Linked DNA regions of Homo sapiens: regions 2, 3 and 4 are each linked to region 1. The links are contacts of gene promoters, found by promoter capture Hi-C in human tissues and cell types (Jung and others, 2019). All regions are on one chromosome and are shown on one strand. Each heading gives the region's core, a stretch centred on a gene start or on the middle of the fragment in contact. The rest is flanking DNA. Distances are from core to core; before and after follow the strand shown.

Evidence for each region. The method cuts DNA at HindIII sites, captures the fragments that hold promoters and counts their contacts. A contact is called where the count stands out against the background at its distance.
Region 2: a contact is called between a fragment that was not itself captured here and the fragment with the promoter of ST8SIA2 in region 1, in 1 of the 25 tissues and cell types used here (aorta).
Region 3: a contact is called between a fragment that was not itself captured here and the fragment with the promoter of ST8SIA2 in region 1, in 1 of the 25 tissues and cell types used here (small bowel).
Region 4: a fragment that was not itself captured here is called in contact with the fragment with the promoter of ST8SIA2 in region 1 in 2 of the 25 tissues and cell types used here (aorta and mesendoderm cells).

The regions. Positions count from the first base shown.
Region 1 is chr15:92,392,557-92,395,305 of GRCh38, forward strand. ST8SIA2 (ST8 alpha-N-acetyl-neuraminide alpha-2,8-sialyltransferase 2) reads left to right here and starts at 1,325. Exons shown (of 6, transcript NM_006011.4): 1 at 1,325-1,606. The coding sequence starts at 1,509. The HindIII fragment of the contact is 17,571 bases long and covers 1-2,749 here.
Region 2 is chr15:92,330,893-92,333,641 of GRCh38, forward strand. No RefSeq gene overlaps it. Among named protein-coding and RNA genes, the nearest start is that of ST8SIA2, 62 kb to the right of the region's middle. The HindIII fragment of the contact is 5,298 bases long and covers 1-2,749 here.
Region 3 is chr15:92,442,645-92,445,393 of GRCh38, forward strand. It overlaps ST8SIA2 (ST8 alpha-N-acetyl-neuraminide alpha-2,8-sialyltransferase 2), which reads left to right. Exons shown (of 6, transcript NM_006011.4): 5 at 1,992-2,285. Among named protein-coding and RNA genes, the nearest start is that of C15orf32, 28 kb to the right of the region's middle. The HindIII fragment of the contact is 4,665 bases long and covers 1-2,749 here.
Region 4 is chr15:92,356,368-92,359,116 of GRCh38, forward strand. No RefSeq gene overlaps it. Among named protein-coding and RNA genes, the nearest start is that of ST8SIA2, 36 kb to the right of the region's middle. The HindIII fragment of the contact is 3,846 bases long and covers 1-2,749 here.

The sequences.
Region 1 (2,749 bases), core at 75-2,574:
CGAAGGGGCAGAAGGGCTCTGGGCACAAGCAGTACTTTGGTAGAAAATCAGAAGGCCCTCTTACATCCCCGGGGGCGCCATGAAGGGACTTGGCTGCTGCCAGCCCCTCGCCAAACTCCTCTGAGTGGTCCAGGGGATAAGGCCGACACGCCCCTCCCATTCACTGGGGTGTGGTTTCCAGCACTTAGGACATTCCATGTAGCTTCTCCAACAGGACTCCTCCTCCCCACACTCAAACCCAAAGGACCCTTTCATAAACCAGATGATCATTTCTGGAAAGTTACATTTCTTAATTTCAGGAATTGTTCCAATTCGTGCAAAGAAAATAAAAGGTAATTATCTAATTCCAGTAAAACTTAATGGGGCCCTTCCCACCCCTGGCCAATGGTTGGTGTGAAATGTAATTTGACTTAAACTGTCTAAGGCTGTGAAAGTGTACAATATTCGGAAGGGTGGGGGGCATTACCCCTTGTGGGAGCCATATTTTTCTAGAAGGCATTTTGATCAAGACAGGCCTCCCGCGGTTATTGATCTTAGGGTCATTGAGAGTCCAAGAACTGGGGAGATGAAGGCCACCCGGCGTCAGCACCGCGAGGGCGGAGGGAAGGCGGGCGCTGAGTCTCCCATTGGGGTTCTAGCCGAGGGTTCCAGCCAGGACTGCGTGATCTGGGGGCAGCTCGGAGAGCTCTCCCGACCCAGTATCGGGTCTATAAATGGAGATAAAGATCAGCACCTGGAGGGAGTGGTTTCTCGAGGGCTGAGAGCCTCGCCCACAAACTGTAGTCAGCATCTTCACTGAAGTTGGCCTGTCTTGGATATTTCTTCTCTCCTCCCCTTCCCCCACCTCCCCTCCTAATTCATCAACTGCTGAAACATCTGCCTGGCTGAAACCGCCTTCTCGCCGCGCGCTGGGGGCTGTCCCCAGGTGTTGGTCTTTGTGTCGAGAAAACTTTGCGAGGAGGCGAGGGAGCTGGACAAAGAGCGGGCGAGGGAGGGCGTTTGCCAGCCTGAGGGGTGCGCCGGGCGGTGCGCGCACTTCCCTGGGCTCAGCTCCGTACCCGGTCGCTCGCGGTGGCCAGAGCCCAGTCTCTCTAGGCCAGGAGTGGCGTCCGGCTGCATCCCCGCGCCCTCGGGAGCTGAATAAAGCCAGGCGGGAGAAGCAAAGGCTAGCGCCTGGACGCTGGAGTTGGTGGGAGGAGGCGAGCAGAGGCGCGGAGCAAAGCTGTCAAACTGCGCGCGGAGCCGGGCGCGGGGCGGGGGAAGGGAGAGGAGGGAGGGAGGGGCAGGCGGGAGCCGGGAGGGAGCGAGCGGGCTCGCCGCGCCTGAGCAACCCCTGCCTGTCGCTGCCGCTGCCGCTGCCGCTGCCGCCGCCGGCCCGGACTCGTCCGGAGCGCAGGGTGTCTGCCCAGCTGCGCGCGGCGCGCGGAGGCTCCGGCGTCCGCCGCTGCGCCCTCCGGCCCCTGCTCCTCGCGCCGGCCCGCGTGGGTCCCGGCGGGCGCGAACCCACCATGCAGCTGCAGTTCCGGAGCTGGATGCTGGCCGCGCTCACGCTGCTCGTGGTCTTCCTCATCTTCGCAGACATCTCAGAGATCGAAGAAGAAATCGGGTAAATAGCTGCTCCCAGGCCCGTGCCACGAGCCCTGGCGGGATCTCTCCCTCCTTCTGTACTCTCCACCCTCCGACCCCCTTTGTGTGCGCCGCGCCCCGCTGTAGCTCCGCTGGAGAGATGGGGACGGTTTGGCAGAAGGTGGCGGCGACAGGGGCCCGGGACGGTTTGGGGAGAGGAGGGTGGGGGCGCGGCTGCTGTGGGGTGTCCCCGGGCGGGGTTCACGGGAAGCCCCCAGCTGGCCCGCGTCGGGAAGCGGACTCGCCCACCCTGCCCCCCTGCCTGGCGTGTCCAAGCGCAGTGTCGCCGGGGTCGAGGGAGGGCGCCGGGGAGTGTCTCGGGCGGGCGGAGGGGCCGAGAGTGGAGGGAGGCAGGAGTTTCTTTGTCTCCAGCACGGCCGCTTTCTCGCCTTGGCAAAGTGGGCAGGGGGCGCGCAGGGATCTCTGAGCTGGGGGAGGGGTTCCTGGGGCCGGAGCGGAGGGCGGGGTTCTGCATGGGCTACTGGGAAGCGGAATGTCCCCTGCACACACAGACAGGCACACGCGCCTCCCGCCGGCCCGGGAGCCCGGCGTAGGAGCTGGCACCACTAGAGAAGGGCTCGCATAGCTGGACTGAGACCCCCCGCCCTCGCCTGGCTTTGGACGTTCAGCCAAGCCACGGCAACCCCGGCGACCCTGGGTTCCTGTGCGCTCGCAGCGCGGAGACGGAGACATTTCGGGAAAGTCTGTACCGCCGCCCGGTGGGCTTCTGGGCCCTCAGGCGGGCGATCTGGCGCTTTTTTTCTCCCGACCTCGCCAGAGGTAGGGTGGGACCGCGAGCCCGGATCCTCCCGGCTCCGGACTTCCTGGAGTGCGCACTTGAGGCGCGGGACGCACCGGCTGTGTGTCCCAGGGGCTGAGACTCGCGCCCCGCCCCGCAGCCTTCGGCTCGCCGGGCCGGGCCCCTCTCCGGAACCTCCAAAGGGCGGTAGACGACAGGTGGGGAGGCAGCCGGGGTTCTGAGGAGGCCCGAGGAGAGCTTCCTGGCCCTGGGCAAGGGGAAGGTGAGGTCTCAAAGAGGGCAGAAGGTCTCTTCTTCTGTGGGATTTGTGCTCTGCCAGGCGCTCTTCTCGAGTCCCGCGCCGCGTGCGCCCCTCCTTTGTCC
Region 2 (2,749 bases), core at 170-2,669, 62 kb before region 1:
CAAAAAAAAAAAAAAAAAAGCAGAAAGCTGGCCTGTGGACCTTACTGAGGCCTGGTCCCTCCCTGCAGGGTCTGGGGAAAGCACCCATAATGGAAGCCACCTTACCTGGGGGCTCTTTGTCATTGCCTCAGGCCTCATGAAGTCACTGCCGATCTCAAAGCCTGGACTTCATTGTGCCTCACCTCGCAAGTTCCAGTGATGTTCACAAGTGCCACATTTAACATCCAACTGTGAGAAAGGGTGGGGGTTGTGGGGGAAGAAGGCCTGTCCTCTGATTACATTATGGTCAAGTCATTTTCAGAAGCTTCATCATTCAAGTGCAAGAAGGAGTGGAATTTTCCAGAGGCCACTTAATTGCACTCTTATAGACTATGGTATTTTAAACATTAATACACTGTAATAAAAGAAACTAGGAGAAATTTGGATTAATCAAAGGCCGGAGCTGGAAGAGAGGAGACATTATGGAGATTGATGGCTTGGATTAGATAATCACAGAGAGATATGCATTCATTCAAGAAAGTAATTTTTAAACTGTGGCCCTAAACCTCTAGGGTCCCAGGGGATGCTGCAGGTCTGCAAGGATTATATAAAAGCTTGGCTCAGAAATTCCATTTATGTAACTATTTCTGAAAAGTCTAATAAAAACGTGCATACTCGAAGGTTACATTTCCAAAAGTTTACTATTATTTGAGATCACTGGTGTTTTCATTTACATGTTAACTGACAAACTTTATGGTAAATATGATAAATATGAACATAGAAAACAAATTTACTTGTGTCAAACACACAGTGTAGGATATCAATATGTGGTCTAAAAAATTCATTTTTTTTTTTACCACTGATCCTGGATTCCTCTTAGGTAGAAAATTGTCTTTATTTGCCCTCCCTCTATGTTTATACTTATTTGATTGTTTTATTAACTAGCACCCTTTTTCCTCATAGCCCATTAGTCACACAGCTGCCATTTGTCCCTCCAGACCCAATCCCCCAATACACTTCTTCACACTTCTTTCTGTCCAAGAGGCAGGCTTCAGTGGCTATATCAATGGCTTTCCTTGCCCTTTGGCTTTCTGTTGGATTGGCCCATGGGGAGCTCTAGCTGGACAAGGAAGAGAGGAGATGAGGTCAAGGTCCCTAGCTAGGTCCCTCAACCATGAAGGCCACTACCACTCTCCTGGAGCAAGAACTCTCTCTTCCCTTTGAATTCCTGTAGTAACTGTTCCCTCCTCCCTCCCTTCAGGCTGCGTTGAAGTAACAGCTCTACTTCCAGTAACTCCAGGTTTCTATACTACCTCTGGGAGTTTCCTTACACCCTCCCACACCTTTGTACATACACTTATCTTGAGTTATCTTCATTTAGGGGTGCCACCTGCTTCCTGCTGGAACTTTCACAGATACACCCCACTCCTGGTTCCCTTCTAATGATGAAAACCATCCCTATGTCATTCTGTGCTTCTGTTTGTACGTATTCTTGCAAAATAGTGTTGTTTTGTATGCATGTATTTCCGTTTTTTAACTGAGCTATAGATTTCTTTTGGCATTTTACCTTTCTCACTAATTACCATTTCTTAAACAGTTCATCCATGTTGCTATGGCTACAACTAATCTGTGGTTTCTAAACTGCTGCACCATACTCCGCTGTGTACACGCACCACATTTGCCTATCCAATCTACAGAAGACAGACAGCCAGGTTGTCTCCAGCTTTCTGGCACCTCAACCAGTGCTGCAGTGAAAAACTTTATATATGCATGTCCCTTGGGGAGCTGTGTAAGGATTTCTTTGGACTGCATAGCAAGGGATAGAATTGCTGAGTCATGCAGTGTGTATCTACTTAATTGAACTCAATTAAGTGAACCAGCTGTACTCTACAGAATGCCCATGTACGTCTGCTCTCCTGGGAGCAGTGCCCAAGGCTTCCCCTCCCTAAGTATCCACCAATATTTGGCATTATCTTTATTTTGTATTTGCCTTTCTTTGATTAGTAATAATTTTGAGCATTTCCTCAGATGCTTTTGATTTCCTCTTTCATAAATTATATGTCCACATCCTTTGACTATTTTTCTATTGAGGTTGCTGTTTTTCTTATTTATCTACAAGGGGTTCCTTGTATATTTTTAATGCACTGTTGGTTTTAGTTTGCTAATATTTTGTGTAGGATTTTGTTTCTACATTAATACATAAAATAAGACTATACATTTCTTTTCTCCTATTGTCCTTATCTGGAGTAACTTTAATAATATAAGAATTGATTGTTTCTTACAAGAATCTGATGACTCTGCACCATGTACACCCTGGTCTAAGTCACTACTATCTCCCACCTGGATTACCAATGAAGGATGGTTCGGTATAGGGGGTACAGAAGAACACTGGGTTTAAGAATGGAGCAGAGCCCAGTCATGAGCCCCTGTGTATGGTGTGATAATTATTTGCTTTTTAAATCTGTCCTCTCCTCCCTATTGGAATCCATTTCCAGTACATGGCTCATGTGTGCCAAAAAACAAAGTGTTTAATTTCATTGGTGAGTAGACCCGTTCTCCTGTTTTCTAGCTATATGATTTGGGAAGAGTCAAGTAACCTCAGTGTTGTATTTTCTATCAACAGAATAATAAAGATAAAACCATACCCCCTACTTGTGATGAGAGTTAAATAGAACAATGTACCTAGGGAGCCCATTCCCACTGACTGCCACAGGATGGTGGGCCTGTGTGGGTCGAGGCCAGTTCAGGGGTAATCCTCAGCCTTCTTCAA
Region 3 (2,749 bases), core at 144-2,643, 50 kb after region 1:
TGAGACCTGAGCAGCCCCACACTGGCTGATGTGCTGCAGTGACACCTCAGTCTCTGAGGCCTGTGGCAAGGGCTCCTGAAGGTGAATTGACCCAGGGCAATCCTATCTGCTTACAATGTTTAGCCACAGTCAAAGATAGCAAGGCCTAGGGGCAGGGATGGGAAGACGCGATATTTTAGGGGGTTCAGTCTGAAATCACAAACAGGCTCTTTGAGTCAAATATACCTGATCTTGACTCCTGGTGGTTCCCTTTCTAGCTCTGGGCCTTTGAGCAAGTTGATTCTCACACACTGGGCCTCCATTTCCTCCTGTGTGACAGGAGGGTGATTAAAACTGGGTCACAAAAAAAAAGAGCTGACCTATGTTAAAGGACCAGTCAGTGCCTGGCACACACCAGGGGCTCAAAAAATATTAGTTTTCTTTCTGATTAACCCACTTTTTCTCCCCAGTTGTTGAAAAAGGAAAGTCCTTGCTTAAAGGGAGGATAAATGGTACGTTCCTGGATTTCTTCGTTTGATGATGACCTGTGATCCCTTGTCTTCATGTCTCCAGCCTCTATTTTTACACTCTTAACTGGATTTCTCAGACTTATTTTCACTGGTCAAAGGGCTTTTCCACCATTAAATCCTCTGTGCCAGACAGCAGCCAGACCTCCCCTGCAGTGCCCTCTGCTGCCATCCCAGTCCTAGGCACAGGCAGGAAACCCAGGTGTGCACACCCAGGCCGGGTCTCCCACAAGGAAGTCATCAGGTTAAATAGCAGAGGCTGCTCACCCAGGCAGCCTGATTGTCAGCATGAGTTTGCAGTGGCCTCTTAGTTTGCCCTCCAGTACCCAAATCCATCCCCTCCAATCCATACTGCAACTTCATCTCATTGCTTTCTAATCGTGGCCAAAAATTCTAAACCGTCCCTGTCACTCTCCTGCTCCAGAACCCTCAGTGGCTCCCTATTGCCCCCAGAACCAAGTCCCTGGCACACAGGTCCTTTGATATCTCACTCTGCTTGCCTCCCCAAGCCCATCTCCTCCACACAATATGCTCCAGTCGGACCAGATCACTTGCCTTTCCCTAAACACCCATGCTGTTTCTCACCTCTCTGCCCTTGGATGCCTTTCTTGTGCCTACAGTGCTCTAGCATGGTATTCCTAACCTGCTTGGCTATAACACTACCTGAAGAGAAAGAGCTTGTGAAAAATAGGTATCGATGCTTAGGCTCACCTGCTGAATCAGAATCTCCAGCCGAGGAACCCGGGAATCTATATTTTTAACGAGCGCCTGGGGTGATTCTTCTGACTTGGCAAACTGGAGAAGCACTCTTTTCGTGTACCTTGTCCACTAACAGACTTCTGCTTAGTGGTCACCACCTCAGGGAAGTCCACCTGACACTCCTCCTTCCCATAAGAGCGATGACAACAGTTAGCATTTATCAAGCTCTTATTATATCCAGTAGTGTTCTAAGTACTGGGCATATAGCAATTCTTTTAATCCTTGGGAGGGATGCTGTTGTGATCTCTATCAAAGCTAAAGTAATGGAAGGTCTCAGGAAGCACAGAGAGGTTGAGCAAGTTTCCCAGACTCACACAGGTAGAAAGTGTCCAAGCCAGTTTAGAGCCTGGGAGTCTGCCTTCAGATCCCTCACTCTGTCACCTAATGGGCCAGATCACTCTTGGCAACAGCATCATCATCTTGTGGACTGAGGACTGGCTTACTTGCTTCTTTCCTCCTCTCCTAGATCCTGAACTCCAGAAGACAGGCATTTACATCCACAGGGTCTAGCAAAGTTCTAGGTACACGATATGAGCTCAGTAAACCTTTGTGGCAGAAAAAGGAGGAGAAAGGATGATGGGAGGGGCCTGTGAGTGTGGAGAGATGCCCTGGGTCTTTGTTTGGGGATGAGAAAGAAGCAAGGAGAGGCAAAGGATGGGATCGAGTTAAACAGAGGAAGGGGTCTCAGCTTTCCCAAAAGGATCATGTTGCCTTTTTCTCCGGCAGGTGCAACCTGGCCCCAGTACAGGAGTATGCCCGGGATGTGGGGCTCAAGACAGACCTGGTAACCATGAACCCCTCGGTCATCCAGCGGGCCTTTGAGGACTTGGTCAATGCCACGTGGCGGGAGAAGCTGCTGCAACGGCTGCACAGCCTCAATGGCAGCATCCTGTGGATCCCTGCCTTCATGGCCCGGGGCGGCAAGGAGCGTGTTGAGTGGGTCAACGAGCTTATCCTGAAGCACCACGTCAACGTGCGCACTGCATACCCCTCGCTGCGCCTGCTGCACGCCGTTCGCGGGTGAGCGGCCTCCCTACAGGCCAGTAGGACCGTCACTAAGTGTGGGAGATTCTTGGTAGGCAGTATCCCTTTCCCAGGTGCATTTCCATCCCAGCTCCACCACTCATTTGCTGGATGGCCTCAGCAAGTCACCTGGCCTTTCTGAGCCTCCATTCCTTGAGAGATGAGGGGGTTTGGCAAGTGGGTTTCATCTGGCATGCCAATTTTGACCAATGGGTAGTGCCTGCCTAGGGAACTGAGTTGAGAATGATCTTGGGGGTGGGGCTGTCTTGAGGCTCAATGGGAACAGACGCCATGAACATGGGAGGAGAGATGGCGGCTGGCAAGTCACATACCATCCCAGGTGTGTGATTTTCAAGAAAATCAGGATCAGATGCACTTGACTTCAAGTAATTCACCTTAATCTCTTTAAACTTTAGTTGCCTCTTCAGGGAAATATGAGTGGGAATGGTAACATTGGAGGA
Region 4 (2,749 bases), core at 170-2,669, 36 kb before region 1:
AAGTCTTAGGCACATGTTAATTAGCTCCCAGTGTGGTGTTTGCTGTCACGCTAGGAGCATCCCACGAAGAGCATCAGACGAGTGGTGTTGACTTCCATCAGCAAAGGCCATGCTGAAACCATCTGCTCCGCCCAGAGCTGCCCGTGGGACTCAGGCCACAGCAGCAGGGAGCTTTCTCTAAACAAGAGGGTCAGTGAAGAGGAAAGGCAAAAAGGGAAGTTGTTTCCTCTCGACTATTTTGGTGCCTTTGTTTTGTCAGTGGTTCACACAGAGCCAATAAATTAATTCCCCAAGATGGCAGTAATGATGATGAATTTGGTTTTATGGTTTAACTCTTCGGTAATCTCTGCAGAGGGATGATACAGATCTAGTCTCTACTGAGTGAGAGAGAGATGGCAGATACCTGGTTTGCTAGTCCTTCCTGTTCATTGGTCTATTTGTCTATTTTGAGCTGAAAACAATTAAGAATTTCATATCCACCAGAAAGTAGATTGACTCTTTGAAATCTGGACCAGAAGATTTTGGTGTTTCTGTATTTATTTTTGACTTCTGGCTAAAGTTGTAGCACTGAAGCTACTAACTCTATATGATCATTTGTCTGTAATTGAGAAAGGCCTTGACTTCTCCTTGTAGACGTATGAATTGTTTTCTTATTATGGGATGGTATTAATAAATTAGATTATAATGTTTCTAAAATTACAGGAGGCTCTGTTCTGGTTAGTTTATAAAGATAAACACTTGTATAAATAGAATATTTCTAAAATTTTTAGAAAATAAAACATTGAATTTATACTTTAACATCATAGACTACACTTTTAAAAAATCCTTCTTTCACAAATTGTTCACTCAAACATTTTAAGAAACCAAGTTTACATAATTAAGGTAAATTTTGGAAATCACACTAGGTTAAGAAAAACTGTCTATTCTCTGATTTATGAGTGTTAAGTATAATATAACAGTACACATTATTTTACTTGAGTTTGTTTTCTCAAGGACAAAATAATTATCTGAATCTTCTAAACATGTACAGGTTTACTAATCAAATAAGCTAATAACTACTAATTTACTAAACAAACTCCTACATGATGTTTAAGATTATGAAAATTATAAATTTGTGTTCAACTAAGTTGAATTATTCTGACAAACTTTTCATATCAACAGCAATTATTCTTCAGAGTGAACCAGTTTAGACATAATTTTCAACATCTTTAGTTAAATTAAAACTTAGACAAATATTAAAGTGAATTAATTAATGGATTTTAGAAACCCAGATATCTCCTATTAAATAACATAGAATATGACAACATTGATTACTAAGCATAAAGTTTATGGACTTCTGACTCTTATCTTTACATGCTATACAGCTATATTTTTGGATCATATTAACGAACATGTTCATTTTGAAGTGTAAATGTCTAGATGAAGAAAATTGTATTATGTGTATCACAAGCTTTGTTAGTCTGCTAAAATGCTTCTATATGACAGACAGTTCTCAATTATCTACCCCGAAATTTTCTCTGTGAAATAGAAGTTACTTAAGTTAAAAGTCATAATTAATATGGATGATTAAGACTGTATGTATTAGCCGATTTTCACACTGCTGATAAAGACACACCTGAGGCCGGGCTTAGTGGCTCACTCCTGTAATCCCAGCACTTGGGGAGGCCGAGGCAGGCGGATCATGAGGTCAGGAGATCAAGACCATCCCCGCTAACACACGGTGAAACCCCCTCTCTACTAAAAATACAAAAAATTAGCCGGGGTCGTGGCAGGCACCTGTAGTCCCAGCTACTTGGGAGGCTGAGGCAGGAGAATGGTGTGAACCCGGGAGGCGGGGCTTGCAGTAAACCGCGATTGGGCCACTGCTCTCCAGCCTGGGCGACAGAGCAAGACTCCATCTCAAAATAAATAAATAAATAAATAAATAAATAAATAAAACTAAAAAAAGACATACCTGAGACTGGGCAATTTACAGAAGAAAGAGGTTTAATGAACTTAGAGTTCCACGTGGATAGGGAAGCCTCACAATCATGGCGGAAGGCAAAAGGCACTTCTTAAATGATGGCTGCAAGAGAGAATGAGAGCCAAGCGAAACAGGTTTCCCTTGTAAAACCATCAGATCTCGTGAGACTACCATGAAAACACTACCACGAGAACAGTATGGGAGAAACTGCCACCATGATTCAATTATCTCTGACTGGGTGCCTCCCACAACATTTGGGAATTGTGGGCATACAATTCAAGGTGAGATTTGGGTGGGGACACAGCCAAACCATAACTGTCTACTAGGAACACAAAGAAATGTAAGAGCCTATGTGCTTTTGTTTTTTCAAGCCAATCTGTTCCAGAATATGAAGGTAAATGAAAGACAAAAGATGAGAAGTGAATTTTATTTTCCTTAGTTTATAATGCCTGAATCTAAAAAGAAAATATGAGACATGTCAACATTTTGGCAGAGTTTGCTTCATTTTGAAGGGCGAGTTTTCTTGTTTACTGACCAATATCTTTACCTACAATATGAAAGAATATTCTTTACCTTCTGCGTGATCATCCAAGACATAAAAGATTCAGAATAATTTTGTTATTAGAAGTAATTATCAGTAATTATCAATTATCAATAATTAACAATTTTCTGTGTCTTATGTCAATTTTATTATACTCTTGATTATTGAAAAAGCAAAACAAAACAAAAAAGAACAAAGGTTCATCCCTCATAAAAGAGCTAAATTTCTTTTCAAGTCTATGTTAT